Regions from separate parts of the Homo sapiens genome. Here regions 1, 3, 4, 5 and 6 are each linked to region 2. Evidence: promoter capture Hi-C in 16 types of primary human blood cells and fetal thymus (Javierre and others, 2016). All regions are on one chromosome and are shown on one strand. Each heading gives the region's core, a stretch centred on a gene start or on the middle of the fragment in contact. The rest is flanking DNA. Distances are from core to core; before and after follow the strand shown.

Region 1 (4,235 bases), core at 1,058-3,557, 440 kb before region 2:
GCATTAGAAACCATCCTTGTGCTGCTGGCAGCAGTTGCCATGCTGCTGAAGAATGGTGGCAAAGCCCAAATGGAAAAGGAGTCTTCTGTACTCGTGGCTTCCAACCCCAAAGAACAGAAAGCCAGGGCCCTCATTCTCCTCTGAACTGTTATCTGGATGGTTCACCAGGAGCACAGCTCCTGTGTTCCTCGCTCGCTCCCCCTGAAGGCCCTGAAGACCACATGATGTTGCCTGCCACTGTGGGAGTGACACGCTCCCCTGGTCTCAGCCTGGACGGGTCCTGACAGGTTCAGTGAGAGAACAAAGCGTCATTCTGAGGGTGAGGAATTTCACTCAGCAGCAAACATGTGTTGCGTGTCTGCTTTGTCTCAGACACCGTACGATATGCCGTTACATTTACTCCATTTCATCCTTGTGACAATCCTGTGAGATAGGAATTCCCATGTCCACCTAAGAGATGAGGAAACCGAGGCTCAGAGGGACAGGGAACATACAACTGGTGAGGGGCCAAGACGGTTCTAGAACATCCATCTTTTGGCATCAAGGAGAGTACATAGGAATCACCTAGCATGTTACTGGGAGGTCCAGACACTCAAATGTGAATTTGCTTCTCTCTCTAGAGAGCTACCAGATTTAGCAAATAAAAGGGCAAGACGTTTAGTTAAATTGGAATAGAATTTCATGTAAACAATGAATACTTTTTTTTTTTTTGAGACAGAGTCTCACTCTGTTGTCTAGGCTAGAGTTCAATGGCAGGATCAGAGTGCACTGCAGACTCCATCTCTTGGGCTCAAGTTATCCTCCCACCTCAGCCTCCCAAGTAGCTAGAACTACCAGGTGTGCACCACCATGCCCAGCTAATTATTTTATTTCTGTAGAGATGGGGTCTCACTATGTTGCCCAGGCTGGTCTCAAACCCCTGGCTTCAGCAATCCTCCCACGTTGGCCTCCCAAAGTGCTGGGATTATGGGTGTGAGCCACCATGCCTGGCCAACAAATATATATTTTTTGGGTATATGTTCCATGCAATATTTGGGATGTATTTATACAGAAAGGGTATTCATTGTTTATCTGAAGTTCACATTTAACTGGGTGTCTTGTGTTTATCTGGCAGTGCTGCTTCCAGGTGAAGCTTGTAGTTGGTTTAGTGCTGAAGGAGCCTTCATTTGCTGAGGCTGGGACTATATTCAGCTTTACTCATGAACTCTGCGGGCTCTCCAAAACTCTTTCTGAAATCAGCCTCACTATCCACAGTTGAGGTTACCAGGACTGTCAACCTGAGGAGAATCAGCTCTTCCACACTGAGCCCTGAAGATCACATGGCAGAGTGAGCTGGAGCGAGGTACCAGCAGACCTCTTAGGCGGGGCATGCACCCCCCGCAGTGTCCCATGTCCCCACTGTTCCCTGTGGCTATATCCATTCCACTTGACTTACTTTTACTCCTTGTCCAGGTCCTTGTGGCATTGTTCTTTCTTTTTTGAGACAGTCTCACTCTGTCACCCAGGTTGGACTGCAGTGGCACAATCTCGGCTCACTGCAACCTCCGCCTCCTGGGTTCAAGCGATTCTCCTGCCTCAGTCTCCTGAGCAGATGGGATTATAGGCGCCTGCCACCACGCCCGGATAATTTTTGTATTTTTAGTAGATACGGGGTTTCACCATGTTGGCCAGGCTGGTCTCAAACTCCTGACCTCAGGTGATCCACCCACCTCAGTCTCCCAGAGTGTTGGGATTACAGGCGTGAGCCACTGCGCCTGGCTGACATTGAGTTTTCAACTCTTCATCTACACCATATGTCAGAGCATTTCCTTCTTCTTGCAATGACAGCAAAAATACTGAGGCTTCAATTACTTACCCTCCTCTATTTCTGTTTTATTATCTCTCCCTGTCGCCATTTCCATGCACTGATGCCCACGCACAGGTTGTAGGAACCAACTAGTATGTTGCTGGGAGGTCCAGACACTCAAATGTGAACTTGCTTCTCTCCCTAGAGAGCTACCAGATTTAGCAAATAAACAGGCAAGATGCTCAGCTAAATTTGAATTGAATTTCATATAAACAATGAATACTTTTGTTTTCTTGAGATGGCGTTTTGCTCCGTTGTCCAGCTAGAGTGCAGTGGCGAGATGATGGCTCACTACAGCCTCCATCTCTGGGGCTCAAGTTAAGAGCCCTCCCCCATGGCTCAGCCTGCCCTGAGGCCAGTCCTCGTACATGGCACATGGCCGCCTTCAAGACATCTCCAAGAAGCCCTCGCTGAGAAGTCCCCTGGTGCACACACAAAATCACATTGCCATTTAGTTGAATTTCTTCATTGTATAGGTTAAGAAATGGAAAATGTGACTCTCAAGGATTATACACAACTAAAACTGTGTGAAACTGCAATGAGTACCCGGGCAATAGGGAAGTAGGAATTTCTCACCAACCCACGTGCCAGGATCCAGCCTCAACACTTGTGAGGATCCAGCCTCAACGCTCTGCACATCTCCAGTGTGGAACAGCACCATGCGCCTAATGAGTTCTTCTCTGACTGATTGATTGATTGATTACTAAAACACTCAGCGCTCCTGGCAAAGCAGTTCTCACTCTGTTGAACAAATTATCTTTATGCACTGCAGTCTCTTGAGCTTAGATGAAGGCAAGCTCACTGTAATCTTCAGATCATTTAGCAATGTCTTGGAATCACTGGATATGACAAAATATCCAGGCATGTGGAATAGGAAGGGGGAAGAAAAGCAGGACTTGGAGGGACTATGCTAGTGGATTTCAACTCTATATTTTCTAATCTGAACCAGGGGCAGGCAAACTACTGCCTTGTAGGCCAAATCTGGCCAGTGGCCTGTTTTATTACTGATTGATTGATTGACGGGGTCTTGTCTTGCTCTGTCACCCAGGCTGGAGTGCATTGGCTTGATCATTGCTCACTGCAGCCTCGAACTCTTGGACTCAAGCCATCCTCCCACCTCAGCTGCCCAAGTAGCTAGGACTACAGGCGTGCACTGCAACGCCTGGCTAAAAAATATATATATATATATATATATATATAATTATTATTTATTATTTTTTTTTTTTGTAGAAATGGCATCTTGCTGTGTTGCCCAGGCTGGTCTTTAACTCCTGGCCCCAAGCAATCCCTGACTTTATGGCACTTGCTCAGCCTGGTGTGACAGTGTCTGTCTCCTGGAGGCCAGGAGCCCCTGGCATGCAGCCAGCATGCCCCATTTATAATCGTAGCCCAGCACATGGAAGGGACCCAAGAGAATGACAGCAACGTTGGCTTTGCCATTTCAACCCTGAACCTCATTTTACTGTTCTATTCATATTATCTGGGGGACAAAATTTTCCCACATTCCTTTCTGTTGGTGCCACCATCTCTGTGCCTCCATGTGCTGCTGACCTGCCAAGCCCATGGCCAGCTCAGCACTCGGATTTTATTTGGTCTCTCGGTATGGGTTCCTTTATCAGCATTTCAAAAAGCTTTTGTGTTTTATCCATAATTGATTAAAGTTTGTAGCTGTGAATAAAAGATTGATTAAAAGCAACAACAGCAAAACAGCTCTTGTTTTTCTTCACCATCTGCCTTTCCCCAGAAGAGTCTCCCACCTCCAAGCAGACAGTCCTCGACGTGGATCCACACAACCTTACAAGTTTTCCTTAGACCCAAGAAAGGGAGGTGTGGGGAATGATCGTTACTTGCTGATACTTACTGATATTGCAATGCCAGCAATAAGAATACCATCTGGACTTTATCTGTGGTTGGTGTGTTTCATTTTGCATTTTATGTGATGGGTGCTGGGATTTGGACAGGCCAAAGCTCCCACCCTCGCGTTTCTCAGTGTACTGGGAAATGACATCACCTATGACAGGGCACTATGATTAGCAAGGGGAGGGGAGGGGCCAGACCTCAGCCCAGGAGTGGGGCTTGGGGCAGGCCCCTAGGGAGAAGCAGTGGCAGTAGCCAGAGCTGGGCTTGGTGTCCCGCTCAGACAAGTGGTGCAGCCAGCTGCAGGATTCACACTCACGTCCTCTGGTAGTAAGCTCTGCTCTCTGCCGGCCCTGACTTCAGAGCAGTGCTGAAGCCGGGCAGTCCTGAGGCACAGCCATATGTTTACAGCTTCTATTTTTTTATTTTTTTTAAGATGGAGTTTCACTCTTGTCGCCCAGACTGGAGTGCAATGGCATGATCTAGGCTCACTGCAGCCTCCGCCCCCCTGGGTTCAGGCCATTCTCCTGCC
Region 2 (4,815 bases), core at 2,316-4,815:
TTTTTCTCTTCTTCAAATACGCCAAGATCAGAGTTTAAGAAGCTTTAGCATGGTTGCAACATCATGCTATTTAAGGAAACTGCACTCTAAAGAATGAAGGCTGTGATTCCACCTCTGGATAGAGGGTGAAAGCCACGAACTCAGCAGTTCCTAGGAATACCATCTATCTCCTGGACAGCACCCACAAGCTGCTGGGGGAATGGGGTTGCACCCCTCTTGCAGCTGCATAACCTGGGGGCAAAGTTCCAATAAGGTACTCTTGTAGGAACCGTTTCTTTACACTGCTCTATAGACTGTCAGTTCAGGGCTTCCGTGTGTTAATAGCTGCTTGACTGGAGTAAGCTCTGGAAACCAGATTCAGATTTTAGATGTTTAACGTTCACGCAGTAGAAGCCCGTTTCAATCTCAGTGTCGGAAGGTCACATTAGTTCTACCCATTGAGCTATCGCTTACAACTGCTCTCTTAGGTTTGCCTTCCAAGCCACTTCCTTATTCCTGCTTTTCTGATAGTGTCATACTGAATGGCTTTCCTTTTACTCCTACACTGTGATTTTTATTTAAAAAAAAAAACAACTCTCAGAAATTAGAGCTGGAAAGGACTGTTGGTTTGTCTAGTCTCAGCAGGAGTGTTCTCCATAGAATATTTCCTTTAGTCCTTAAGACAAATTGCAACATTTTAGTGTTCTGGTGAAAAGCCAGCCTCATCCCGCTGCGTCGCCGACACTTGGCCCAGCATCTGCCTGCCTGTCCGTATATGAATGTGCAGGAGCACACTGCAGCCAACCCGGTAACCTTGACTCTGGGTGGCAAAGATGATCATAATTCTCTTTTGAGAGGACCTGGTGCCTCAAGCAAGAGGGCAGAGTCTACGTGACTAAAACATACCAACTTCCTCTTTCATAAGTCATCACATGATGAACTACAATTACAATTCCTGCCTTGTCTCTGCGAATTGCAGACGCATTGCCTCACCCTAGAAACCCTGCTCCTGTGTGTGGAGGAGGCGGCTGTAACTGCTGCAGCAGCCGCTTTGGATGGGATCCAACTCCAGTCTGTGCCGGGAGGGAGCGGTGGGTGGAAGACAAAAACAAAGCTATGTTTACTTAGCATACATCGATAAAGCTGCTTCAGAGCTACATGAAAGGCCAGGCTGCATGAAAGACTTCTGATACAATATAAGGAATTGCTGCCCTGAATCCAGCCTTAACCCCCTTGATTCCGGATCGAGCCCAGAACTAAAATAGCCCTTCCATTTTCCATCGGGCATTTCATTAGGGAAGTTACAACAACTCAGTTTCGACATGAAACTGGCAGTGTAAAATAAGAAGGAAATGCTCTTCCTTTGGAGAAGAAAAGCTCCGTTTTGCAAAGATCTTAGTATCGTGGCAGAATTTCTATCTCTAATTCTATTTTAGGATGGAGTGGCAGGCTCTCCCCTTGAGGCCATTACAGTACCAGCTTGCAGAGAAATGAGTATAATTAGGCCACAACTCTAATGGTGAGTTGTGTTTTCTTTTAGTATGTTTCAGTCAATGCTTAGTGGGGCCGTCTCTTGGGGGCGATGAGTTGGTTCATTTCTCTGCAGCACAAGGACTGGACTTCATCCCCTTTGGGCAGTGACGCAGTGGGTGAAGGCATGTACTGGAATGAGTGTCACAGGGTCTCTGAGGAGGGTGACCAAAGGGACAGGTCTTGAAAGCGGTGTGCAACAGCAGGGCCTGGGAGTGACCAAACCCGCTGGCACCAGCTACTCCCGGGAAGGATCTGGACAGGCCCCATTCTCCCAGCTTGGAGAGGGTGAGGCAGGATTGCAATTGCAGGGCAAGATCCAGGAACAGATGCAGAGACCTTTAAAACAGGCGCACCTTCTATGGAAATCCCCAAAAGACATTCAAGGTTAGCCTGTAAAAACATTTAGGTCTGACATTACGTTTTCTGTGCCATTTTCGAACAGGTTTTTTCATGTGTTTTAAGCAGCTCCCTCCACTGTTTCTCTAAGGGTGTTTTTCCTCTTCCTTGTGGTTAATCCTTTGAAGCAACCTGGTATTTTCAATAGCAACGACTAGAGAGAAACGTCAGCATGATTTTTTTTTTCTCTCCACCTACCAATCCAGTTGTAGGAAAGATAATATAATTAGTACCCTGTTCTTCCCACACTTAACCAGCTCATTCCAGTCTCAAGGGAGAGTTGTGGGCCTGTGTTCCCAACAAAAGCAGCTCCAGAGGCCGCCCTTAAAGAGCTTAAGTGTAAAAGTCCCAATTGAAGAGCGACTAAGCCTACGTGTATTAGGGAGACTAACGACCAGCCCAAAGTGATTTACCATAACACACACTAGCTCCTCCTCCCGATAAAAGTGCGAAACTCAAACATTCAATTCAGTCTGGGCTGAGTCTGAGGCTGCCAACGGTGGCAGACCTGCAGGCCGGGCTCATCCCGGCCTGGGTGGCATATAGGGCAAAAGTCCGCCTCCGTCGGCGGCCCGCCCTGCGGGACGGCGGGCCAGCCAGCCAGCCGGTCGCCCCCACGGCCCTCGGGAACCTCGCGGAGGCGAGCAGGACCCCCCCCCCCCCCACTCGCGCCCTCGCCTCCCGCCACCTCGAGTCCAAGTTCGGGCCCGGGGGCGGCGCCTCGACGCCCAGACTCGCCGAAGGGGGTGGAGCCTGCGCTGTGACGCGGCCGCGCTGGCCGTAGACCCCGGATCCCTGGAATGTGCATTCGTTCCACGAGGCCCTAGTGCCAGCGGCGCCGAGGCACGTCTGCGCGGAGCGTGCGCACTCGCGGCGGCGGCCGCCCACGGCCCCGCGCCCACGTCACGCGCCCGCCGCGCATACCTACATAAGGCAGCCGGGGCGACTGGCGCGGCGAGGCCCCCGATGAACAGGGCGGGCTGGACGGGGCTAAGAGCGGCACTTGGTGTTCGGGAGAGGCTAGTCCGAACCGCGCTCCCTCCCCTCCAGAGGGCTCCGTGGAAAACGCGCGAGCCAGCTGGCGGCGTGTGCACGTGGTGCTGGGCTTGGGAATATTCACAGTCTCCCTAGTTAGTAAAAGGGACAGGCGGGGCGTATGTCCTTTCCAAGACAAATGCAAAGCACCAGTGACGGATTTCATGCTATGTGTCCGACATTGAGCTTTCAAGTATAACTCCTAAAAAACCAGAACTGTGAACCACGCTAGACCTAAATTCCCCATTCTCAGGAGACTGACGGAAACCAAGTGACAAAGTGTCCTTGCATAAAAGAAAAAAAATGATTTTTAGCACGATTTGGCCCAGAGGCACACCAGAGGAAAACATCCTGAGGGTGGTCGGGACAGCCGGGTGGGGCGCGAAGTGAGGGAAAGTGGAGGAAAAGCACTCGATCACTTTGCGCGGTGTTCCGAAGGGAACACCGGCGCTGCGCTGCTGCGCTGCCCCGCGGGCGGGCGGGCGCCGCGTAGCCGGCTCTCCCGGCAGCGCTCCTTCGGCGCGCGGGGGGAGGGGGAGCGCGCGCGCGGGAGGGCGGGCACGCGCACGAGGGGAGGGGGCCCGCGCAGGCGCCGTGCGAGACTGTCGAAGAATCAAGTCTGTAGAAGTGGAGCGGTCGCGGCGGCAGCAGCAGCAGCGACGGTGGCGGCGGCGGAGCTGAGGCGGGCTGGCCGCTGACGCTGGCGCTGGAGAGCGGCGACGCCAGGAGCTGTGAGAGAGCGGCGGAGCGACCCGGGGCCCGCGCCGCGCCCGAGCTCCACGCCGCCCGGCCGCCGCCACCCCGGCGCGGCATGCCCCGCCGCTCGGGCTGAGCCTGCCCCGGCGGCCGCCCCCCGCCCCCTGCCCCCCCGGCCTCCCCGCCCCCCGCCCCGCACTCCGTGCCGGCCGCCGCCGCGACCTGCTGCGCTCCCCCGCGCCCGCGCGGCCCGTCTTCGCCCCGGTCTGGAGGCCCGCCGCGGCTCCGGCCGAGCCCCCACCGCCGCGCCCGCCGCCCCGCCGCGCCGCGCCGCCCGCCCGTGCCCGGGCCGGCCGGGGGGAACTGCTGCCGCGGCTGCAGCCCCTCACCTCGCGCCCGCCGCCCCTCGTGCACCGGGGGCGCTGCGCGGGCGCCGAGCCTTCGCGGGCTTTGCCGCCGCCGCCGCCGCCTTTGCGGCCGCCGCCGCCGCTGGTGGGGGAGACGCGGGGTTGGGGGGGGAGGAGGGCGCGCGTGGTGCCGGTGGGGGGCGGCGGCGGCGCCCCCTCCTCCTCCTCCGCCTCCTCCTCCGGCGTCGCGGGCTCCTCGGACATGGCCGCGGCGGTGGCGGTGGCGGCCGCGTCCCGGCGGCAGTCGTGCTACCTGTGTGACCTGCCCCGCATGCCCTGGGCCATGATCTGGGACTTCACCGAACCCGTCTGCCGCGGCTGCGTCAACTACGAGGGCGCCGACCGCGTCGAGTTCGTCATCGAGACGGCGCGGCAGCTCAAGCGGGCGCACGGCTGCTTCCCGGAGGGTCGCTCCCCACCCGGCGCCGCGGCCTCGGCCGCCGCCAAGCCGCCGCCGCTCTCCGCCAAGGACATCCTTTTGCAGCAGCAGCAGCAGCTTGGCCACGGCGGCCCCGAGGCGGCCCCGCGCGCGCCGCAGGCCTTGGAGCGCTACCCGTTGGCGGCCGCGGCCGAGAGGCCCCCGCGCCTCGGCTCTGACTTCGGCAGCAGCCGCCCGGCAGCGAGCCTGGCCCAGCCGCCGACGCCGCAGCCGCCGCCCGTGAACGGCATCCTGGTGCCCAACGGCTTCTCCAAGCTAGAGGAGCCGCCCGAGCTGAATCGCCAGAGCCCGAACCCGCGGCGCGGCCACGCGGTGCCGCCCACCCTGGTG
Region 3 (4,357 bases), core at 1,775-4,274, 330 kb before region 2:
TTTTTCTCTACATTAAGTGCCCTTTCTTTCATCTCCACTTGTTCAAATCCCATATAGCTTTGAAAATTCAAAGGTTTCTTCTTCAGAAAACCTTAGAGTCATGTGAAAAAAGTATGGGCTTTAGCAGTGAGACATGTGGCTCAAATCCAGGCTCTGCCACTAACTGTATGACTCTGTACAAGGTGTTTACTGCAAACTTGAGTTTTTCTCATCCATAAAGTGGGAGTCAGGGTGACTAGCTCACAGGTTTATTGATAAGATTAAATGCATTATTTATGAGCATGCTCTATGTCTTTTATTAGACTGTAAGCTGCTTGAGAGCAAGATTCATGTCTGATTAATCAATATATCCCCAGGTACTTATTAGTTATCAAATGAATGAATTAATATTGCACATTTTGCCAAACAACATGGTGCTGATGTCAGCATTTTATTCACCCATTAAAGAGATCAAACCTACTTTATTTTGGTCAGTATTGCCTAATTATATGCAGGCACTACTTTGATATTCTTATTTTATTTCTACTCAGGTTGAATGGCTTGACTTAATGTCAAAGGGGTGCTAAGATGGGAGAAGGAATCGGGGGCTTTTAGACCTACCCTGGGGTCAGTTTTTTGTTGCCCTCTCACGTGCAGAAAAGTCTGAACAATTGTCTAGTGAGCTTAACAGTGTAGACAACCGGCCCTGGCTGGAAAGGTCCCCAAGTCCCATTGCCTCTTTTTATTTTTGCTTAATTTATCCAGATAATTCCTTCATCTCTTCACTTCTTTTGATCTTTGGTGAATAGCCTCTCGGGTCCAGGAAGCCATCTGTTCCTACTTCCCTATTCTCATTCTCTCTCTTGCCTCCTTCCTCCTCCTTGTCCTTAAAAATGGGCGAGGCTGGCTGGAGTTTTCCTGGAAAGCCAGCCCTCACCTGGGAAGGGATCTTTTTCCAAGGGCATACCAGGCCCAATGCACCTGTCTGCTAAGGTGAACATGCCAAGCACTTGTCCCTCTCTTGGCCTATCAGATGCAGCTGAATACACTTGGCTGATGCTCCAGCAATTTGGTTATTCGTTTTCGTCTCTCGGCTGAGTGTCTACACCTGTTCAGAGCTTGGCTCACGCACTTCCTAGTTCCCTTGGCTGAGTGTCTGCAGCCATTGCATGTTTGCTCTTTCCCTTTCTCCTCACTTTCCCTCATTAGGTAAGTCCTTCAAGGGAGAAATAAATGGAGGTGGGGTAGGAGACGGGCACGCACGCCAGTGGCATTCCCTTTGAATAGCTGGAAAAGATCTTAGAACATAGTTTTCTGGTCAAGGCCAGTGTAGTAAGCTGAATTATTGCCTCCCCCAAAATATCAGGTCCTAATTCCTGGAACCTATAAATATTACAGCTGAATATTGGTGTCCTATCCCAAATTCATCTGCTGAAATCCTAATGCCCAAGGTGACGGTAATAGGAGGTGGGGCCTTTGGGAGGTGCCCTTGTAAAAGAGAGTGCAGAGCTAGTCCCTCCCACCATGTGAGGACACAGCAAGAAAGTCCATCACTATGTATGAACCAGGAAGCGAGCCCTCCCCATGTTAATGGATGGAAGGTCTTGACTGTGAGTTGTCTAGGTTCTTGGGGTGTTGAACAAAGAGTTGAACAAAATGCACAAACAAAGCAGCAAAAGAATGAAGCAATGAAAGACAAATGAAGCAACAAAAGAATGAAGTAACACAAGTACAGATTATTGAAGCGAAAGTACACTTCACAGAGTGGGAACAGGCTCGAGCCGGCAACTCAAGAACCTCCCAATTCGGGTTTTTATTAAGCTGAAATAATTTGGTAACACCCCTAGGTGCCCTTTAGAGGTCTCCAGTTGGTTCCATCTTATGAAGGATTGCCCTGTGACCAATCAGAGGCTGAAGTGGAAGCTTGGCCTGCTATCAATCAGAGGCTGAGATGGAAACTTCTGTCTTGTTATCACTGGAGTAAAAATGTGGCCTGTATGCTGCCTAATCTTGCCTAGAACTGGCTGCACCTGCTGTTCTTTTGCTTATGCCTTAACCCTTGGTTACCCTAATTCCCTATTCTCCTGTCTCACCCAGATATCACCTCTGCCAGTGTCCTGACCTTGGACTTCCCAGCCTCCAGAACTGTGATAAACAAATTTCTGTTGTTTGTAAGCCACTCAGTTTATAGTAGTTTGTTTCAGCAGCCTGGAAAAACTAAAACATTTACCTTATTTGGATAAAAGGAATTTTGCGGGGCTGGGTGAGGTGACTTATGCCTGTAATCCCAGCACTTTGGGAGGCTGAGGAGGGTGGATCACTTGAGGCCAGGAGTTCGAGACCCACCTGGCCAACATAGCAAAACCCCGTCTCTACTAAAAATGCAAAAAGTTAGGTGGGCATGGTGATGAATGCCTGTAATCCTAACTACTTGAGAGGCTGATGCAGGAGGATCACTTGAGCCCAGGAGGTAGAGATTGCAGTGAGCTGACATGGTGCCATTGCACTCCAGCAGCCTGGGCAACAGAGTGAGGCTCTGTCTCGAAAAAAAAAAAAAAAAAAGGATTTTGCAGATGTGATAAGAATTTTAAGATGGGGAGATTCTTCTGGATTATCTCGGTGGTCCCTAAATGACATCACAGGTATCTAGTTCTAGGCTGAATGTTCATGGGTGAGCCCACTAAGAGCTGCTGCTCCTGCTACCACCAGGAAGCTGGCCACCCACTGCAAAGCTGCCATACAGCTGCTACAATCTGTGCCCCCCAAACAGATGCCTCACATCCAAGGCTTCTGTCTCCTCTGAACCCAGTTCGAAATTCAAGTCTTGCATGACTACCTGTTATTTGAGGAATTTAAATTACAACTGGGACTTTGGTTGCAGGGGTGCCTGGGAAATGTGGTTTTTAGCATTCCAGCTTCTGCATTTCAGGAAGGCAACTTTCCGTTGTGACGGTAGTTGCACTCCAGATGCCATGGATTTTGAATGGGCCAGTCCAAAATTTCTTCCACAAGCACCTACTGTGTGAATAGTAGGGCTCTAAGCCAGTTAGAAAGCCCTGCACGCAAGGCACTTACTTTCTTATGGGTGTAGCTAGTAAGTTCATCAACAAATAAACCCAGTGATTTAAGATACTGTTATTTGCCACAAAGGAGATAAAGTAGTGTAATGAGGTAGTGACTAACAGTGGGGGTTGCTTTAGCTATGTAGATTTATATGTAGATTTAGCTAACAGAACAGTCAGAAAAATTCTCTTGACCTGGCATTTTTTGTTTTGATCTGAATGATGAAGAGGCAGCCATGTGCAAGTCTGGGGAAATGGTGTTCCAAGAGGAAGGAATAGCAAGTGCAAAGGGTTGGAGGTGGGAATACCTTGGCATGCTCAAGGGAGAGAAAGAAGCCAGTGTAGCTGGAGTGTGGTGAACGAAAGCAGGGTGGAAGGAAATGAGGTCGAAGGACTAGGCAGATGCTAGATCCCCAGGACCTGATGGGGATTTGGATTTTATTCTTGTGACAACAGGAAATCACTGGGAAGTTTTAAGTGGGGGAGTTAGAGTGGGTTGAATAGTGACCTCCAAAATTCACGCCCACTGGGAAACTCTGAATGTGACCTTATTTGCAAATAGGTTATTTGCAGAAGTAATGAAGGCAAGGATGAAGATCCATCCTGGATCAAGGTGGGCTCTGAATCCAATAAGAATGTCTTTGTAAGAAACAGAAAATGAGTCACACAGAGAAGAGGGTAATGTGGAGATGGAGGTAGGGGTTGGGGCGATACAAGCCAAAGAGTGGCAAAGATTCCCAGCAACCACCAAAAGCTAGGAGAGAGGCAGGAAATGGGTTCTCCCTTGGAGCCTCCAGAAGAAACGGATCCTGCTGCCATCTTGATCTTGAACTTCTGGCCTCCCGAATGCTGAGAATACATTTCTCTTGTTTCACCTCCCGGTTTGTGGTACTTTGTTATGACAGCCACAAGAAACAAATACAAGAGTGATGTGATCTAATCAGTGCTATAGAAAACTCACTCTGGCTGTGGTCTGGAGGTGAACCCTAGGAGCCAAGACCGATGGTGGCAGGGAGGCCTGTTAGGACTGGATGCGGCAGGGGTCCGAGTCGGAGATGCTGCTGCTCAGACTGGAGGAGTGTCTGGGGAGATGATGAAAAGCTTTCAGTTTCAGGATGTGCTAGGAAGGTAGACCCTGTGGATTTTACTCTTGGACTGGATGTTGGGGGATGACTGGGAGATGAGAAAGAGGAGTTAAATCTGACTCTTAGGTTTCTGGCCTATGCTGCTGGCATGATTTATTGAGATGAGGAGGCTTAGGGAGCTAAGTTGGGATTGAGACGCTTTTTGGTCATGCGAAGTTGGAGCTGCGTATT
Region 4 (4,252 bases), core at 1,451-3,950, 290 kb before region 2:
ACCCACCTTAGACAAGCTGGTGGTCCCTGGCTCCCAGGAGGTCACCTTAGTGATGCTGAACCTAGTGTGGACACCTGATCAGCACAGCGCACCGCAGCCCAGAACTCCCGGGCTCAAGCGATCTTCCTGCTTCAGCCTCCAGAATAGCTGGGATTACAGGCATGCACCCCCATGCCCGGAAAAATTCCTTAGAGATGAAAGCCTAAACATGTAAATGCTGTTGAGGCAGCATCTTAGGCGGCTGGAAGCTCTGCCAAAGGAGCAGGGAACATCACTGCTGGGTGGCCCTCTCTGTTTGAGTGAGGGGAGAATCTGAGGAGCCCACCAGGGAAGTCAAGATCCCGAAGTAGGGCAGGGAGCTCTTCCCTGGTGGGAAAGTGGGTACGAGAAGAGGAAATCAGGAGTAAAGCCTCCAAGGACCTCTCTCATCTTCCTAAGGTAGATCCTATTTCTTCAAGTGGGCAGGACTGTGCTTTGGCCATGAAATTGAAGGCAGAGCCACTTCACACAATGTATGGCAGGTCTTTCTTCAGCCCCTTCCCTTGGTGAGTGGTGCATCTACGATTATAAAGGACCCCTTCCATCTACTTTCTGGAACTGTATTAGGAAAGGCATCGTCTTGTAGCAAGGCTTCCCAATGGATGGACTGAGGCCTGTGCCAAATGCATTTCAGCTGTGCCAAAATTCTGTGACTCCCACCTCCTTGGGGCCAGCAGCAGCCAGAAGTCCTGGGCCAATCACCTGCTTTGAACAGCAGCCTCCCATTTACCCCTGCGTGCCACAGAAATATTATTTTATACCTGTGCCATTTTGTGTAAAAGGTTGAGAAGAACTAACCCCAGGGGCAAAGACAATACTATACCTACTGTTTGGGAGAAATGAATCTGTTATGTGTAGATAAGAAAAAGGTGGTCTGACCTGTTTCATTACTTGGTGAAAATGATCTTTGGTGGTGCTATTGCTTCCAGATGAATTTGAGTGTTTTGCAACCTGGCATCCTGGGGGGTGTGTGTGTGGCTGGCTGAAAATGCATCCCCTTGTGATGTGAAGCTCAGCTGTTGTTCCCCAGCCTGGGTTGTCATACTGCCTTCTGCTACCCCACACACCTCTTCACTTTCTCTTGCTGTGAAGCACTCACAGATACAGCAGCTCGGTTCCCATGGCGGTCCTTTTTCTTCCAGAAACAAAGGAAGGGGGGACTTTGGTGCCCTGTGATGCATGCCACCTAAGGGATATAATAATAAGATTTTTCAGGCCCCTGTTTCTGGAGTGATGGCACCCCTGTGTTTGAGGGTGATGGTGACAGTTTACAGTTGTGTCGAATTGTGACCTATGAGTGAAATCCAATTCAGTATCTCCTTTTGGGGGATGTACAGCTGTTGATGAAACCATCTAGACTTCAGTCACAATCTGTTGAGGTTTCATATTCTCTTCTCATGTGTAATGAATAGAAGAGTGGAAGCTACAGCACCCGGGGTGGCTTGTCAGGTGCAGAAGGTCAACAAATGCTGATTGAATGGCTCCTGTGTCAGGCACCGAGCTACGTGCTGGGTACGCAAGACTTGTGAGAAAAGTTCCTACAAAGGCCAAACGAAATTTCTGTAAACAAAAGCTGAAGGTGTTCTGAAGTCATCTAAAGGTGGTTACTTAAAGGAAAACGGATACTGCCTGCCCTCCATGTTTGTGTGTGTGTGGCCTCATCCTCTTCATACTGAAGGGTCTACCTCTAACATATGCAGAGCCCAGGGCAGGAGTGCAGAGAAAGTCCCTCGTTTGCCCAAATATACAGAAATATCAATCAAGCTTACAAAGAGTTAGAAAAAATACAGTTTGTTCTCATACTTCAAAAATATGCATAAAGACAAAATTGAAAAATTAGGTAAAGCTATAGTTTTTACATGATCCAAAGTTAGCAGATATAAAAAACGACTGAATCAATTATTGCCATACAGGTTTAAATATTCTTTTGTTTTGTTTGAATGACTAACAAAATAAAGACTCATAATTTATAACGATCATATATTTACTTCCTTAATTTTTTTGCCTTAATTTCATCGTGATCACAGATTCTGTCATTACAATGAACATTTTTACATAATTTTGTTCTATTGATAGCAATGAGCTAAAGGATTTTAAAAATGTAAATGTATTTAAAGTATGCAAAATTTGAATATATTTTCATCAAAAATGAGAAAATACATGTGAAAACATCAAAGAGGCATTTTCTCATATCTATTTTCAAAGAAGTTATTTTTTCTTGTAACATTAACATGAAAAGTCAAACGCAAAATTACAAATTATAATTAATAAGTGTCAAAATGGTAAATAAAAATTCTTGAAATAAAACTGACTTTTAAATTTGATTTTCTGTAAATGAAACAAAATCTTATTAAATACTTTTGTAAGTCATACTTCACATTTCTAGCATTCAATTTCCATCCAGTTGCCAACCTAAAGAAGCTCTGTTTTACATCATGCATGGGTGCATGTAGATCGACGTAGATACTGGCTTAAGAATAACAGGAATTGTTAAACGTTGCACGATATTCCTCTGCTACCTTGTACCATTGTTGCAAATACCATGTTACTTCTTCAGTATCTCCAGGAACAGGAATCAGAGCAGGAAGAGAGGTGGGGAAATGGGTGAACCGCTCCACTGGGAAACGATTATTCGTTATGCAAGAATCTGTTCATTCATGGTATCCGAGGGAAAAGGTCATATGAATTTGTCTTTTCTCTCACCCATATTAGTCAGCAACTCAAATCATCTCCCACTCCAAAACACTGTCCTCTCCGACATCAGCAGCCACAGTGCAGTCCACAGACCTCCATGGCACCTGGAGGGAGCGGCTTTCCTTAGCCCTCCCCACAAAGACATAGGGCAAAAAATATGGGGAAGCCACGGAGAAGGGTTTCCTGGCTACAAGAGTGGATGTTTGGGATTATGAGTGCTGGATCCCAAGCGACTGAGGGACCTCCGTGAGCATTAATGAAATGACGTTTTTTTTTAGCCGGGCGCAGTGGTGGGCGCCTGTGATCCCAGCTACTCAGGAGGCTGAGGCAGGAGAATGGTGTGAACCCGGGAGGCGGAGCTTGCAGTGAGCCGAGATAGCACCACTGCAGTCTGGCCTGGGCGAAAGAGGGAAACTCCTTCTCAAAAAAAGAAAAAAGAAAAAAAAAAAAGAAATTACATTTTTTTGTTTGTTTGTTTGCATTTGTGACTGTGGCGCTGTCTAAACCATCTCAGGGGAGGAGTCCCTTTTGCCTGTGTCTCCTGAGAGTGCTGACTACTCATATAGAGCAAGACCCTGCTGAAGAATAACCACTCGAGGCTGTCTCTTTTTACCTCCTGGTAGCGACTTATCCTTGCTCCAGGGGTTCTGGATGAGGCATCCTTCTTAGACAGAAGGGTGCTTTTAAGAGGCATGGGCGGCTCCATGGGTCACTTCTGTTCCAGTTGGTTCCTGAAGTGGTGCAGAGTTGGAGTAAAGGCTGTGTGGTCAGTTGGCCCAGACTAAGAGTATCCTTTTGTAGTTGGCATAAGGTTGTAGCACGTGCAGGCCTGAAACAGCTGCAGTCATCTCTCTGGGAAGCTTCTGTCCAGGCACTGTCTCAGGCTGGATTGCACTCTGTGGGCCCTGTCCTGATTGGGTCTGACCTGTGTCTGACCCTGTCTTTGCTCTCACCGTGTTCCTGATCTCACTTATTTGCTGTATCTTCCCCCAGGCCCTGTGCTGCATCAGTTCCCCTCTACCTGCTCACTTCACCTGGTCCCCTGATTCTCTCCTGGCTGACTGTGGCCGCCCCAGTAGTATTTTTCCCCTTCCCCAAAGACATAGGACAAAAGATATGGAGAAGAGGTTTGAGTTTCTTGTCCCTGAGGGTCTGAAAATGAGACCCAGAATGTGATCGGCATTCCCATATAGAATGAGCATACAAACAAAAATTTTCAAAAAGTGAATGTGTGAGTCGATAAGGCCCATGCAGCATTTTCATGGTGTCCATGTTACAGAAGGGTCACCACTAAGATTTCTACAACCAGCGTGGCAAGATAAGGGCTGGCCCAGATCACCCTGGCAAAATCTCGCATTTTGAAAAAGTTGGAAGACTCTCACAAGGAAAACCCATGACTGTAACGACGCCCACGATTCATCGATCCCCTCCATAAGTTGAGCTTTGAGCCCGGTGAAATTAGGTATGTCTAAAAACACATTCAGAATGTATTTAAATTGTGCTGTAATGCGACTGTTCT
Region 5 (4,201 bases), core at 699-3,198, 410 kb before region 2:
AGGGTAGAGGCTCCATCCTCACTGTTCCTCCAGAGTGAGGACAGAAGCTCCGCAAGAAGCGGAGGACCTCAGACAGGCTCTGCTGCCCATGCTCAGGATCTGGCCAGAGCAGGCAGCTCTTGTGATTGGGGTGAGAGGCAGATTTGTCTCTCCTTCACGGTTCACTGTCACTGGGTCCCCATCCTCAGAGCAGGTTGCAGATGGCCGTGGAGCAGGCTGAGCATCACTCTGTTGTGAGTCCTGTCATCTGTCCCCTGAGGCTCTCCCCAGTGACGCCCCTTCCCACAGGCCTCCTGCCCTTCTCCTTTCTTCTCACTCCTCCTCACCACTAGGTCTTTCAGTGGATTTTTCCTCCTTAATACTCAAAGGGTGGCCTTCGTGTCCAGACCTGGTCGCTCAGCATATTTCAACCTCCTAAATGCAGTGACCAGCTAAACAATGAGGCTAAAGACACAAACTGGCTCAATGAAACCCAATCCCAGCTGATGACACAAACTGGCTCAGTGAGACCCAATCCCAGTGCTTTTCCTAGAGCTGCTGTTCTCTGGGCTGCTCAGTGAGGATGTGAGTCTGGGGTCACTGCCAGCTGTTTTCCTTCCCTGGGAGGGGAAAACTTGCTTAAGAATAACACCAAATAACAAAAGCAGAGACAGGCACTTCAGAACATTGTCTGAGCTGTGGGCCCAGCCATGCTTAAAATCTATTCCCAGACCTTCTCAGCACTGGGGCAGTTTGTTATTTTTATTTCAGAGACAAGGTCTTTTTCTGTTTCACAGGCTGGAGTGCATTGGCACAATCATAGCTCCCCATAACCTCAAACTCCAGAGCTCAAGTGGTCCTCCTGCCTCAGCCTCCCTAGTTACTAGGACTACAGGCGTGCCACCACTCCTGGCGAATTTTTTTTTAATTTTTTTATTTTTTGTGGAGACAGGGTCTCTCTATGCTGTCCAGGCTGGTCTCAAACTCCTGGCCTCAAGCGATCCTCCTGCCTAGTCCTCCCAAAATGTTGGAATTACAGGCATGAGCTATTGTTCCCAATCTTCCAATTTGTTATTTTTTTTCCTAAGCTACTAGTCACCAAGCGCTCTGATGAACACAGCTATCTTCACATGACCACGGGGTCTCAGAGAGTTCAGTCTAACCACTGGAAACAAATATTTTGTTGGACTCACTGCAGAACAGTGGACATAACTGAAAAATCAAGGGCTTTGGCATAAGACAGGATTGATTGGGTTTGAAACTTGACCCTGCTGCGTGACACAGTCTGTGAGGTTGGGCAAATTTCTCTAATACTCTGTGCCCTTGAGCTTGATCATTTGTGCAATACCGTGCTCCGATTAGAATACTCATGTCTACTGGAGAAACCTTGAATATAGGAAATTTGAATTATATGAGCACATTCTCTTCATGCAGAATTAGTTGAGTCTTCTGCCTCTGCATTAGAATTGTGGTCACTGTGATATGGTATGAAGGAATGACCTCCAGAGAGGTTAATTGGCTTCTCCAAGGCAGAGCACATTTCTGTAGGGTCAGGCTGAGGGGTTTGAGTGAGGAGTCCTATAGCTTTGGCCACCATGAACCTCACCAAGCATCCTACCCGCAGCAGCAGGCAGGGCGTGTGGAAGCCTCTCTCCACGGGGCCAACCCTCTAGGATTTCTGACTGGAGCCCTCCCACCCCTCCCCCGAAGGCTTTTCTGGATTGAAGAAATCTGTCCACCGTGAAAGTTTCATGTAGGCTGACAGAGAAATCCCCTTCCTCGTGGTGCCTGCTGACTTTCAGAAGCAAGCAAGACGGCGGGGAGGAAGTGTGGGAAAGGACTCAGATGAGTGTGGGGTCTGGGCAGTGCAGACACTTTGGGGCTGATGGTGACAAAAGCCAACAGGTGGAAGCAGTGCATGGGGAGGATGTGTAAGAGGAGACCACAGGGTGTCTGGGGTCAGAGGCTGCTGCAAAAATAACCTGCATCCGGACCAGGGATGGCCAGGAGTCAGTTTTCCAGATTTAACAGCAGCCTTCTGCCCTGGTGGCAGCCCCCAGGGCCACCTCTCCTGTTTATTTTGTACTGTAATGACATGCAATCAAAGAGCTCTATGGGCCCGGTACCTTAGCAGAAAAGTAAAGCTGGGAGATGGAGTGTGCAGGAACTATAGGAACAAAGGCTGCTTTCCGGCCAGTATTAGCATCTACGCTTTGTAGCCTACGAGAATGAAAAACAAACACCCTCAGTTGTTTAAGAGCTACGTTGCATGACTAAGGCAGTGATTTACAAATGGGGATGAAACTTTGCTGATGGGTTCCAGTGACTTCAATGGACCAAGAAAAGAAGACTTATTCCCAAGGTCTGCATGGCTGCCGGGGAGGGCTATTTATTATCATCTAAATCACAGTGACCACGTGAAGCTGTCCCAGGCAAGGCTGTGTAGCCTTGGTCGCTTGTCGGCTGCTGTAGGATCTGGTTGGCTTGCCACCTTGTCCAAAGATTCTAATTCATGACAGGGCTGTCGACGTCTAGAGGCTGTTCTGTAGGATCCCCATGGGCTCTCCACAGCTCTCTGGTATTTTTCCACACTTTCCTGAAACTGGATTCTCCCAAGGCCTTTTCTGGGCCTTCCATGATAACAGCTAAAGCAACATGCTTTCCATCCTTGTCGTGAGAGGGGAGTGTCTTGGTGAGGAACTTGTTTCTGATTTTCAGCTGACATCTTCCTTTCCTCTCCATTTCATTCCCGTTACTTCTATAGTATGGATACTGCCTGGGCCCTAACCAAACAGTTCCTCTCTCTCTCTGTGGCCAGCTCCTGCTCACACGCACGGATCTGGTGTGTGATATCCATCCAGCTCTGCCAATGTATTCCCCCGCAAGGCTGTCACTTGCTTTTCTAGCTCATTAATCATCTTTGTTGCTTTTCTCTGAATTTTCTCTGAGTTGATCTCTCGTTTCCTGGACAGAGGAACACAGAACAGCTGCTGCTTCACAGGCAAAGTACTGAAGAGAGCTCTTCTGTCTGGTCACAAAATCGTCCTTCTCCTCCCAAGCACGTCGTAGTGACTGCACCTGGGGCTGCGTGGAAATGCTATCAGCTTCCAAGGAGCTTGGTGTAAGCTGGGTCTGTCCGGGACTCCTTCCAAGCAAAGGTTTTTACTTTTTTTCAGAATTAAAAAGGGCTTCATTATGAAAAGAAAGTCTCTCACCTTATAAAGCAGGCTCCTAACAGGGACGAAGAAAGTGCTGTTCTGAGGAGGAGAAGGTATTCAGAGGGCCCGTGCTCATTCTGCAGGAGACATGGAGTATGCCTGCCGCCCGCCTCCAAGTCAGGACCCCAGGGCTGGAGAATCATGGGTCCAGGATAGCGGGGGACGGAGAGAGTGTAGGACCTCCCTCTACTCCTTACATTTTTAAAGTGAACAAACAGAGGCCCAAGTCATTGGCATAGTTTACCTTTGGGGCAGGAGCCTGGTATAATAAAGCAATCAGGGCCCGAGAATCAAAGGGCTGGTGTCATCCACTGGCTATAAGATCCTGGCTTTAACTTCTTTCCACCTTAACAACTTTTCAGTGAAGATGGAGTAATAACAATAATAACAGTAATAATGCCAATGAAAAAGAAGCGTCCACTCCCATCTGTCTTTGGTTTGGGGTGACCTAAAGGGTGCCCATCTGGCCCCAAAGAACAGGAATGGGAGCTCTTGCTCCCATCCTTGCTGGGTGTCCAGGGTTCTAATGAGACTTCCAAGTGTCTCGGATGCTGTGGGGTGGCTGAGCGATTTGCATTGATGTTATTGGGGGTACTCAAAGCACTGGCAGGATATTGATCGTACTTGTGGGGAGACACTGATGGTCCTGCTCCACGGGGAACAGAAAAGCCAGCCAGTGAGACCTCACATCACAGCCCTGGAGGAGTTCCAACTGGGGGCAACCCTTGCCCCTGCAAGCAGGCTTCCCTTTCCGTGCAAGATGTGGCACTCTCGTCCCATCCACCCTTCGGGCACTCAACTCCTGGGCATTGCTCCTTGTCACCTGGCACTGCCTCCAGAACTTAGGGGCCCCCAACCACCTATAGGTTCCCAGACCTGGTGACTGAGTCCCTTTAACACATCTGAGTTCACTCCTTCTTCAGACTGGACCCCCTTTCCACAAAAGCCCTGCTCCCACTAAACTGGCCCCTATGCCCTTAGATCCACAAAGACTTGTTTGTCTT
Region 6 (4,807 bases), core at 2,029-4,528, 500 kb before region 2:
AATTAGATTTCTGTACACCCCTAATCTAGCCTTGTGAGCTTCGCTAGTTAATGTGTGCTCACTTTCCCTCCATTTGTTACGTGAGAGAATGCGTCTGCTGATCACTGAAGTGTCCCTTTTAGCTTCTGATTCATTGGGTTCTGTTGGGCATCTTTAAATCCACCTTAACCTGAGGAATGTATGTGGGCAACCAGGCCCTGCATTTTTTTATATTCTGAATTTTGCATGCTTGCCTGACTTAGTATTTCTGAATTGATGTTTTTTTTAATGGTATAACTATCTTGATTTTCACTGAAATTATATGGTTCTGTCACTACTCTGTAAATTAATCCGAAACTTTTAAGGTAACTGGGATGATCTGCTTGTAAAAATGCTTGTTGCCTTTTGCTTTATCTTCAGTGTACCTCCTTAATCCTGCTTCAACTTGATTATCTTGTGAAACGATGAGAGTAAGTTGCAACCTTGTGACTGAAAACTTGAAAAGAGTGGAGCAGGTGGGACCTCTTATTCTCAAATAGTGACATATTCTCCGTAGTCACAGTTTCAGAACTGAGTAAGGATCCTTGGTACTTGGTGGCATCTGTTGAACTGAGGAGCATTTCTCATTGTAAAGATTGCCTTTGTTCTGTCTAAAAGTCTGGAGAAATCCCAAAGACTTTTCCTATGTACTAGGCATTTTATTTTGATTGACTTACAAACTCTTCTTAATCATTATCAATCTCGGTTTTTTTGTGGTGCAGTGGAAGGAGAAATAGGTCTAGTTTCTGCCTCTGATTAGCCGCACAGCCTTGAACAAATCACATTTCATCTTTGAACTTACCTCTACTGTTAGACTAGGCGACTCACATTTGAGGACTTTTCTCGGGTATCTTGAGGGTTTGTGATCCTGAACCCTTAAACAGTGCTTTTTTGTTACACAGGAGGGCTTTTTTGGGGGGATGACCAGTACAGACATGCCAGTTAGTTTTACTAGTGGGATCCCAAATCCAAAGCAGTGTAGTGGTGATTGGTCAGTGACTAACCAGGCAGCTAAGAAGTCTTAGGCAGCAGCCCAGACATGTATAGAGGGGCAGTTAGAGGGAGAACAGGGGTGGGAAAGGGAGCAAGGGGCAGATAGCTCAGCAAGGAAAGAATGGGCTCAGAAAAAGGAGGGCTGGCTGGAGGAGTGAGGGGCAGCTTAAGTTTGGGGAGGGTAGAAACGCCGTTTCCTTGGGAACTGGAGTGCAGTATGAGCTGGGTGTCACTTGGCTCTGAACATACTGGCTTTGCTGTAATGCTTGAAAAGGCGTTGGTATCTTCATTTTACAGTTCATTAACCCAAGTACGTTTTCTTATTTAAATGACAACTTTGGTGCTTTAAAATGAGGTACCACTTTTTAAAGCTAGCTGTGTCGAGTTAAAGAAAAAATCAGCAGTTTTTTCTCCCAGAAATGTAATTGCCAAACACTATTCATCCCCATCTTAAGTTTTACAAGGTGATGTAATCAGCTTGTTGTAGTGATGCTGGCCAAATGGTGCTCAGCAGGTGAGAACAAAAAAACCCCAGATCTCAGTGAACTAATACACAGCTTGAGCGTTTCCATGTGCTAATGTTGCACACTTACTAAAAAACTTTGGAAATGGAAAATAATGTATTAGTGCAACAGTTGATGTGCTTCTTTGGGCAAAGATATAGTTTTGTTCCACAATTTGTACTTAAAAGCGAAAGAACATTGAAAACATAGACTTACTGGCTGTAGCAATGCTGGCCTGTTAACTGATAACTAGAACTTAGGTTCACGTTTATGTAAAGTGTGTAAAACCTAGTAGAGCTTGCATAGTCGGCACTCAGTAAATGTTTGGTTCCTTTTGCCCCTTGGTAAGTTTATTTTACCATCCTCCCACCTGCCATTCTGACTTTATTAAATCAACATGTGGACCAGAGTGTTAATGAGATGTTATTGCAGAAGAGATTGAGAAAATTGGTATATCATGCAGATAACATACAAAATCTTTTTGTAACGTAAAAAATGCAGTTTTATTATTGCTTGTGCCTCAACTGTTTAAGTGAATATTAAAGGGCTTGGAGAAAACTTTGGCTTGGCGTATGTTTGGAGAAGTGAACTCTGCTGAATTTATTGAGTCTAAAGCTGTGGGTTTTTTGTTGTTAACGTCTTTGAGGATGTCTAGGGCCGCAGGCTTCCCTGCCAGAAGAATGCACATTTGCTTCAGATTCCAGGTGAAGAAAATCCCTGTGGTAGTGTCAGCGCCTGAGGGCTTCCAGGTGGTGGTGGGCCCAGCGTCAGGAGATAGCAGTCACCTGGGAGGCCCGTTACAACAGGTTCGTGAGAGGAGCCCAGTGGTGGTGGTGCTGACGTGCGAAACATGAAGGCTTGTTAGAGAAACCAGCTGTGTTAAGGTGACAGAATGTGTACGTTAGCACTGTAAAAAGCAGCTAATTGGTAGCAGAACGTGCTAGCTGAGAATACGTTGTATTCTACATCACTGATAATGATCTGAAGTGTACAAGTCATCAGTATCAGATCTATGAGAGTTTTTGTAGTTTTGCTCTAACATAAATTTCTCTTTGCCACCTCCAAAGTTATTATATTAATAGTAAAAGTAATGCTTTGGAGAGGGTGGAAGGGGGTATGCCCTAGCCTCCACAGCTCCTGCCACAAACTGCCCAGATAAGCAGGACCTGAGTGTGTTGAAAGGCTGAGTTGAAGAGCAGATTGACACAGGAGGGCTGGAATGAACGTTGGCTAGAGCAGGTGTGTCCAATCTTTTGGTTTCCCTGGGCCACACTGGAAGAAGAAAATTGTCTTCAGCCACACATAAAATACACTAACACTAACAATAGCTGATGAGCTAAAAAAAAAAAAAAAAAAAAATCATGGTGTTTTAAGAAAGCTTATAAGTTTGTGTTGGGCCACATTCAAAGCTGCCCTGGACCACAGGTTGGACAAGCTTGGGCTAGAGCCAGAGGCCATGGGAGACAGGATGCAGGGCAGGGAGTAGGGCCTCTGCCAGAACTCCTTAAGCCAGGTGCCATGCTCACCTGTAATCCCAGCACTTTGGGTAGGCCAAGGGGTGGGAGGATCACCTGAGGCTAGGAGTTCCAGAACTTGTCTGTTTTGTTAGTCTCTATTGCCCAGGCTGGAATGCCTCTCAGGTTCAAGCAATTCTCATGCCTCAGCCTCCCAAGCAGCTGTGGTTACAGGCATGCGCCACCACACCCAGCTAATTTTTGCATTTTTCATAGAGACGGGTTTCGCCATGTTGGCCAGGCTGGTCTCGAACTCCTGGCCTCAAGTAATCCACCCTCCTCGGCCTTTTAAAGTGTTGGGATTACAGGCGTGAGCCACCCTGCCTGGTCAGAAGACCCCGTCTCAACAAAAATGTGAAAAAATTGGCTGGATGTAGAGCACACCTGTAGTCATAGCTACTCACGAGGCTGAGGTGGGAGGATCGCTTGGGCCCAGGACTTCGAGGCTGCAGTGAGGCGTGATGGCACTGCTATACTCTAGCCTGGGCAACAGAGTGAGACCCTGTCTCATAAAGAGAAAAGACAAATTTGCTCCTCTTTTAGCTCAGCCAAGAGATGCTGTTTTATCTAGAAGCTTCCCCTGGTGTCTCCATTCTTCCTGGGTGATTTCTCCCTCTCTGCTTTCAGCAGCCACCTGTAGCTGATGACTTCCTCCTGTCCCACTTCTTTCCAGCCTCACTGCCACTATTTTAGGTAACCCAGAGTTATTGCAGGTCCCATCGCCAATCCACACAGCTGCCTGAGGAATTGATCTGAAACATCATGTCCCTCGTATGGCATCCGAGGCCCTCATAATCTGGCCTGATTAACTCCGATCTCACCTCATGTGCCATCCTTCCCCCAAATGTGCCTTCCTCTTCAGCTGTCCTCCTGCGGGGCTCCCTATGCCTTGGGCAACTGTGCTTACCACCCCAGATAGCTGGATGAACAAAATAGTCCCTGATTTTACCATCTCATTGAGAGAGTCTTAATGTAGCCGGCCCAGGTCCAGGGTTCTGTGCCCCATGTTGATGATGCTGGTATCTCCATTCCTGGGATATTCCTATGGCATTTACCAATGTCTACTGTCACTTCCTGGTGACTTGTCCATCTTTCCTACCAGACAGCTCCCAAGGCATGTCTTACTGACCATCGGATTCCCCAGCATAGAGCATAGTTAAATGCCTAGTAAATAATGAATGGAAATCCAAATGAACAGAAATGGGATTTTTCACCACAAAATTTAAAAGATTCTTTGGGATTACACATGCCAGGTAAGTGGAAGGAAAGAAACATTGTGAGGAGTAATCTATTTTAAAACCCACTTAACTCACTTGGTTATTAGAAATAGTGTAAGTTTGAGAACAGGAGAAGGGAAGGGATCTATTTAGCTTTCTGCATATTTCTTGATAGCCTCCTAACCTAACAACAAAATGCCAAAAAAAAGCAAACCTGGCAGCCATTGAAGAGCATTCATAAAGGTTTTTGTTTTGTTTTTTTGAGACAGTCTGCTCTGTCGCCCAGGCTGGAGTGCAGTGGCACAACCTTGGCTCACTGCAGCCTCCTCCTCCCGGGTTCAAGCGATTCTCCTGCTTCAGCCTCCCGAGTAGCTGGGATTACAGGTGTGCACCTCCATGCCTGGTTAATTTTTTGTGTGTTTTTAGTAGAGATGAGGTTTCACCATGTTGGACAGGCTGCTTTCAAACTAAAAAAAAAAAAAAAAAAAATTCTGAGATGGCCTTTTAGAAAAAACCCAAAAACATAATTAAGAGTCATTTTGAACCACCCTTTCATGGAAAC

Evidence for each region. The method cuts DNA at HindIII sites, captures the fragments that hold promoters and counts their contacts. A CHiCAGO score of 5 or more calls a contact.
Region 1: a contact is called between a fragment that was not itself captured here and the fragment with the promoter of IRF2BP2 in region 2, in 15 of 17 cell types (activated CD4 T cells, total CD8 T cells, erythroblasts and 12 more). The highest score is 9.1, in activated CD4 T cells.
Region 3: a contact is called between a fragment that was not itself captured here and the fragment with the promoter of IRF2BP2 in region 2, in 9 of 17 cell types (monocytes, activated CD4 T cells, non-activated CD4 T cells and 6 more). The highest score is 10.8, in monocytes.
Region 4: a fragment that was not itself captured here is called in contact with the fragment with the promoter of IRF2BP2 in region 2 in 5 of 17 cell types (monocytes, endothelial precursors, non-activated CD4 T cells and 2 more); the score reaches 7.6 in monocytes.
Region 5: a contact is called between a fragment that was not itself captured here and the fragment with the promoter of IRF2BP2 in region 2, in 1 of 17 cell types (non-activated CD4 T cells). The highest score is 5.2, in non-activated CD4 T cells.
Region 6: a contact is called between a fragment that was not itself captured here and the fragment with the promoter of IRF2BP2 in region 2, in 13 of 17 cell types (erythroblasts, naive B cells, naive CD4 T cells and 10 more). The highest score is 11.2, in erythroblasts.

What each region holds. Positions count from the first base shown.
Region 1 is chr1:235,050,719-235,054,953 of GRCh38, reverse strand. No RefSeq gene overlaps it. Among named protein-coding and RNA genes, the nearest start is that of LINC01348, 17 kb to the left of the region's middle. RefSeq lists an enhancer at 3,891-3,960. The HindIII fragment of the contact is 2,345 bases long and covers 1,135-3,479 here.
Region 2 is chr1:234,608,928-234,613,742 of GRCh38, reverse strand. IRF2BP2 (interferon regulatory factor 2 binding protein 2) reads left to right here and starts at 3,565. Exons shown (of 2, transcript NM_182972.3): 1 at 3,565-4,815. The coding sequence starts at 4,249. RefSeq lists enhancers at 651-700, 981-1,040, 3,191-3,290, 3,393-4,090 and silencers at 2,341-2,940, 3,421-3,610, 3,671-3,770, 4,151-4,230, 4,471-4,750. The HindIII fragment of the contact is 9,061 bases long and covers 45-4,815 here.
Region 3 is chr1:234,940,700-234,945,056 of GRCh38, reverse strand. No RefSeq gene overlaps it. Among named protein-coding and RNA genes, the nearest start is that of LINC02971, 14 kb to the left of the region's middle. The HindIII fragment of the contact is 2,240 bases long and covers 1,905-4,144 here.
Region 4 is chr1:234,900,114-234,904,365 of GRCh38, reverse strand. It overlaps the pseudogene RN7SL668P. Among named protein-coding and RNA genes, the nearest start is that of LINC02971, 55 kb to the left of the region's middle. The HindIII fragment of the contact is 1,790 bases long and covers 1,806-3,595 here.
Region 5 is chr1:235,021,257-235,025,457 of GRCh38, reverse strand. No RefSeq gene overlaps it. Among named protein-coding and RNA genes, the nearest start is that of LINC03108, 43 kb to the right of the region's middle. RefSeq lists enhancers at 1,636-1,695, 2,824-2,873, 2,954-3,013, 3,054-3,103. The HindIII fragment of the contact is 8,342 bases long and covers 1-4,201 here.
Region 6 is chr1:235,106,606-235,111,412 of GRCh38, reverse strand. TOMM20 (translocase of outer mitochondrial membrane 20) reads left to right here. Exons shown (of 5, transcript NM_014765.3): 5 at 1-2,072. Among named protein-coding and RNA genes, the nearest start is that of SNORA14B, 19 kb to the left of the region's middle. The HindIII fragment of the contact is 653 bases long and covers 2,952-3,604 here.